Linked DNA regions of Homo sapiens: region 2 is linked to region 1. Evidence: promoter capture Hi-C in 16 types of primary human blood cells and fetal thymus (Javierre and others, 2016). All regions are on one chromosome and are shown on one strand. The core of a region is centred on a gene start or on the middle of the fragment in contact, and the rest is flanking DNA. Distances in the headings are between cores, read along the strand shown.

Region 1 (2,700 bases), core at 90-2,589:
GTATTGTAAACATTTAACCACTTAGGACAATTTGAGTCATTACTCGTGTCTGGTACAGAACATCAGGCCCCTGGGGTCTTGTTTTGAAACTCAAGTTGGCCAGCCTTTCACCTGAAACAAACTTCTTACCTTTTGGGGGAGAATAAGCATTTTGTTCCCCAAAAAAGCATTTGGAAAGCATTTGTTATGAAGTGATCATGCACCAATCCTTTATCTTTCATCAGTAATAGTATATTTCATTAATCAGGCCTGCCCAGACCAGAAATTACTTACCCACAAACACTTTACAAAGCTGCATGCCTTCTCGGTGTTTGGATTTGATGTCCTGGTTGTATGACAATATAGGAAACGTATTAATTTAACTTTTTTATTCACTGAGGAAAATTTCTACCCCTCTTAAGTGAAGACTTCACTCTAGCTAAGAGAAGTACTCGGGCTCCACCTGTTTCGCCTAGCTACAACACTCATTCAGACCCTCGGCAAACCCAGCTCTAGCAATATCACGCCAGGCTAGGTGGACAGGAATGCACCAGTGCTGTTGGAAATTAAAGTTGATGGGAGTTGCATTCTAATCCGGCCAGAGCTGCGCCTGCCGGGTGCAACCGCGGCGCGGCCGGCGCTGTCGGTCTCTGTCTCACGGATGGTGAGCTGACAGCTCCTGCCAGCCCAGGCGGGGAGGAGGAGAAGAGGTGTCCGCTGCAGCCGCATACCCGGCGGGTGAAAGCACCGTCTTGTCCCCAAAGATTCCTCTGCCCTCAGAGACTAACAAAAATACGGTGTCCTGCGTTTCGCAGAAGGACGGGAGGCGTCCCAGAGCTCTCCCGGGAGAAAAACCCAGGGAGAAGTGGTGGTAGGAGGCGCCCGGTCCCGCAACTCACCTTCTGCTGCCTCCGGGCCATGTCGGTGGGCTGCTTGGCGTTGAAGGGGTACGCGATGCACCTCACGACGAAGACGTAGAGCTGCAGGCGGATCCTCCGCTCCTGCTCATCGTCCAGCTGCCGCTGGGGCTCGTCTCGCCCCTCGCTGAGCACAGAGGGGCTCGGGCTCACAGATCTGGCCGCGCCGCCGCCGCCCGCGCGCCCCGGCGCGTCCCGCCGCCCTTCCCGAGTCGGGGCTGGAGGAGCTCGCTGCGAGCTGCCGGCTGCCACCAGCACATCGCGGCTTTCCTCTTCCAGCCCCTCGTCCGACTCCTCTTCGCTGGAAGACGGGTCCAGCATGGTGCTCGGGGATCCCCGCCGCTCGGCCCGCGGTCCCCAAGCGCCTCACCCCCGGCGGCTGCGCCCGCGGGTCTGAGGGAGCCGCGGGGCTGGCTGCAGCGGCCGCAGAACGAAAGGAAAACTGGCCAGGGCTTTCCGGACACGTCGAGTTAGATTCAGGAGTGTTTCCTACCACCAGGGCGAAAGGGGCGGGCAGGAGCCGGGAGGAGGATTGGGAGGGGGGAGAGGGGGAGCCGCCGGGACTGAATAGGCGGAGTTAGCGTTGGGGGTGAGCTTGGGCGCCTCAGGAATTGCTCCGCCAGCCCCGGGCGCGCCGACCCAGCGGTTCCCCAGAGCCCGCCGGCAGAGGCGGAGCCGCCCGAGCGCCCGGACGCAGGTGGGGAACCTGTGGCGCCTACAACAAGCAACACGTGGAATTGAATGTTGAAGAGCCGCGCGGGGCCGCGGAGTGCGCGTGCGCGCGCCGCCGCTGCTGCCCGGGCCCGCCTGGAGCCCTAGCACACAGTTTGCAAAGGCGGGGAGCGGCCGAGCGCGATGGCCCGTGTAAGCGTCCACCGGGGCTGCTCCGACTACCCTCACCCTACCACCTGTGATCTTTTCTCCAGCAGGTGGAGGTGGAATGGGGAGCGGGGAGGGACTGTTCCCTAGCAAGAGGTTAGGGGGAGCGGCCGAGACATCTCCCCAACCCGAATCGGCTGCCTAGGATTGAACCCCAGCGCGGAAAAGCGGGACTGGAGCCCTTCACCACGAAGTATCTTTGCGACAAGACTTTGAAAAGTCTCACTCTGCTCTGCTGCCGTTTTGATACTCATGCTGAAGCCCAAATTATAAAAGTCGGAGTAATGAAAAAAAAAAGAAAACCAACGAGGCTTACTTTTTAAACTGTTCTAGTCCTGCAGACTCAAGGCAAGAGAGATTTTATATGTGCAAAATGATACTGATTCAGCTCAAACATATCTCGATTATTTTCTGGGTTGGGATGCAGTTGACTCAAAACAGGTTGTGTAGTGTGGACATTTATTCAACAAAGATTTGAGCGCCCTCCCGGTGTCCAGCACTGTTAGCCTTTTGCGGAGCCCGCGGTGACTAAGGCACATGACACTCAGTCGCTGGTGGTTCTGGCCTCAAGTCGGCGTCTTGTAGCTGCGCTGAAGCCTGCCTTATCTGCGCAGATTTCTCAGTCCTAGTGCTGGAACCACCTAGGAGTTTCTTATAGTAATTCTGTATCTTATGTCCTAAGTCCTGACAGAGGGGGAAATAGGCAAAACAATGCATTCAACACCAGGTGGAGTGTGCAGCGACCAGGTGGGCAGGGAGGTGATGAAGTTCAGTGGAAATAACACAGGGCAAATTAACTACCAGCTCTGAGCTCCTCTACCACCATGGTCAAACAGCAGTTTTAGCTTTTTCAGGCCACTTTCATATAGTTAGGTACACAAGAGAGACTTCTGCACTTACTGACATTCTCTCTAGATGGGTAAAA
Region 2 (2,700 bases), core at 147-2,646, 270 kb after region 1:
ACAGTTCTGTACTATTTTGTTATGGCAATCCTTGCTGTCTAACAATATAGAAAATGATTGGACAATTAAAATAGACACAAAGTATAGAATAGACCACCCATACAAGTGTGTGTGTAGCGTGAAATAAAAGAAAATAACTGCATAGGAACGCAGGAAGAAAAGATGGAAAGAATATTTGGAAAAAATAAAAAGCTGGCAGTAGAAATTATTCTAAATATATAATGTCACAAATAATTTAAATGGATAAAACATGTCGGGTAGAGGTAAAACTTTTCAAACATAATAAAAGAGATACACCTAAAATATAAGGACACAGAAATATTGAAAGTGAAAGGATAGAGGAAATGCCAGGTAAATACCAGCTTTATAAAAGCTGGTAGTGTCATAAAGTGTTGAAAGTGAAAGGATAGAGGAAATGCCAGGTAAATACTAGCCTTATAAAAGCTGGTAGTGTCATGCCTGTAATCCCAGCACTTTGGGAGGCCGAGGTGGGCGAATTATGAGGTCAGGAGTTCGAGACTAGCCTGGCCAACATAGTGACATCCCTTCTTTACTAAAAATACAAAAAATTAGCTGGGCACCTGTAATCCCAGCTACTCAGGAGGCTGAGGCAGGAGAATCGCTTGAACCCAGGAGGCGGAGGTTGCAGTGAGCTGAGATCGTGTCACTGCACTCTAGCCTAGGTGGCAGAGTGAGACTCAGTCTCAAAAAAAAAAAAAAAAAGCTGGTCGTCCTGTATTATCAGCAGACAAATAAACTCAAAGACCAAAAAAATTAAGATAGATGAAGAGGTGCACAGCAAAATGATAAAAGGTTAATCAATCACACACACAGAAACATTCTAAATGGGTTCAGAATAACATAATTTAACAATGCAGAGGAACCAAAATGGACAGAAGTATCAGAAGAAATAGAATACCTGCATGATAGAAGGAGAGTTTAACAAAACAGTCTCATCAGTTGCTGAATAAAAAGAGACAAAACTTGGTCAGAGCACAGAGATTTGAGAAGCACAACTAGTAACTTGATCTTACAGAGTTTTGGAAAACATCGAACCTAATTAGTTAAAAATGTACAATTTGTTTTAAGCACAATGAAAAATATTTATTATAGCTGACTATGTGCTAGTCCGAAAAGCTGCTTTAACAAGTTTTAGAGAACTGTTATATAGACCACAGTTTCTGACCGCAGAAAAATTGTTAGAAAAAATTTAAAAGTAGCTAAAAATCTAATTTATTTTAAATTTCAAAACACATTTCTAAGCATCTTTTGAGTGAAAAAAATCTAGTATAATGGAAATCAGAAAACACAAAACTGAAAAATATGGAAAATAGCTAAAGTAATAGAAGCAAATTCATATCCTTAAATCCTTACTTTGGAAGAGAGGAAAAACTCAAAACTAATAAGGTAAAGGTCAGATTTTAAAAATTAGTAAAAGAGCAAGAGCATAAATACACCAACAAAGTAGACAGAACAAAGTAATAAAGAAAACTATTAAAAATAATATGAAATATACATTAAATAGAGAGGGTGAAAGGAGTCAGAAGTTGGTTCTTTGACAAGACTTGTAAGACTAATAAAATAGACATAGTTTGGAAAGATTATTTGAAAAATAATCTTTAAAATACAGATTTAAATAAAATAAGATAAATAAAGATTTACATTAAAAAAGACTTAAATAAAATATTTTATTTAAATGAAATAAAGATTATTTAAAAATAATCTTTAAATAATCTTTAAAAGCACAAGAAAAATGTTAGAAATAAAGACATATAACTATAAATACTATAGAAATTAAGTAGATATAAGAAAATATTATAAACAACCACACACTACTAAATTTGACATGGAACACATAAATTTCTTTTTAAAAATGCAATTGTTTGATGTTGAAATAGAAAATCTGAATACTCTTAAATCCAGGAAAGTAATAGAATAATTTCTAAGTACATATGCCTTCCACTTTCTCCTTTCCTTGAGCAGCTAGCTGCGATACAGAATGGACAGAGGGAGATGGGGAGCCATCTTGAACTGCAAGTTTCCAGTGCTGGAAATGGCAGAGAAGAGATAGAAAGAGTCAGGGGCATGGTGATGAAGGAGCCACTATACCAGCCTATTTCTATCTTGTTGAAATTGTTGCTATATTTGGTCTTTGCTGTGGCGACCAATCCATACCTTAACTAGTGCAAGTGATAAAACAAAAGAAAACAAGAGAATGATTAACACAAAATTTGGACTATAGCTAACTTGGCAAGGGGTTGGGGGTGATTCTGTAAGGAAAAGAGATAGGCTCGTGTAGATTTTAGAAATCATTATGTTCTAGTTATTAAGCTGGGATGTGGTATACATTATCTTATTTTGTTATTCTTCAAAATATTTAGTCACGTTTTATACAGGCATATATGCATGAAATATTTCTTAATCAAAATACAGAAAAATCAATTTGGAGACAAACATATTTCTTTTTTTTTTTTTTTTAGAAAATACCACTAGAAGATGCATAGGAGAACACTGTTGAGTATTTCAAGAAATAAAATATAGTATTCAAATAAGCTATGTAGTGTGGGGGGCTTATTGTACAGTTAAAGTACAGATATCACTAATATGGCTGAGCTTATGCTATTTGCTAGATAATATTTCAATAACATAAAATGTGAAGAACTAGATTTTTGTATTTCATAAAATAAAGATATATGGGAG

The links. The method cuts DNA at HindIII sites, captures the fragments that hold promoters and counts their contacts. A CHiCAGO score of 5 or more calls a contact.
Region 2: a fragment that was not itself captured here is called in contact with the fragment with the promoter of CADPS2 in region 1 in 1 of 17 cell types (endothelial precursors); the score reaches 6.1 in endothelial precursors.

What each region holds. Positions count from the first base shown.
Region 1 is chr7:122,885,121-122,887,820 of GRCh38, forward strand. It overlaps CADPS2 (calcium dependent secretion activator 2), which reads right to left and starts at 1,340. Exons shown (of 30, transcript NM_017954.11): 1 at 879-1,340. The coding sequence starts at 1,217. RefSeq lists an enhancer at 628-677 and silencers at 1,038-1,167, 1,208-1,257, 1,268-1,347, 1,418-1,577, 1,588-1,747. The HindIII fragment of the contact is 15,066 bases long and covers 1-2,700 here.
Region 2 is chr7:123,159,565-123,162,264 of GRCh38, forward strand. All of the region lies in intron 6 of SLC13A1 (solute carrier family 13 member 1), which reads right to left. Among named protein-coding and RNA genes, the nearest start is that of SLC13A1, 39 kb to the right of the region's middle. The HindIII fragment of the contact is 6,842 bases long and covers 1-2,700 here.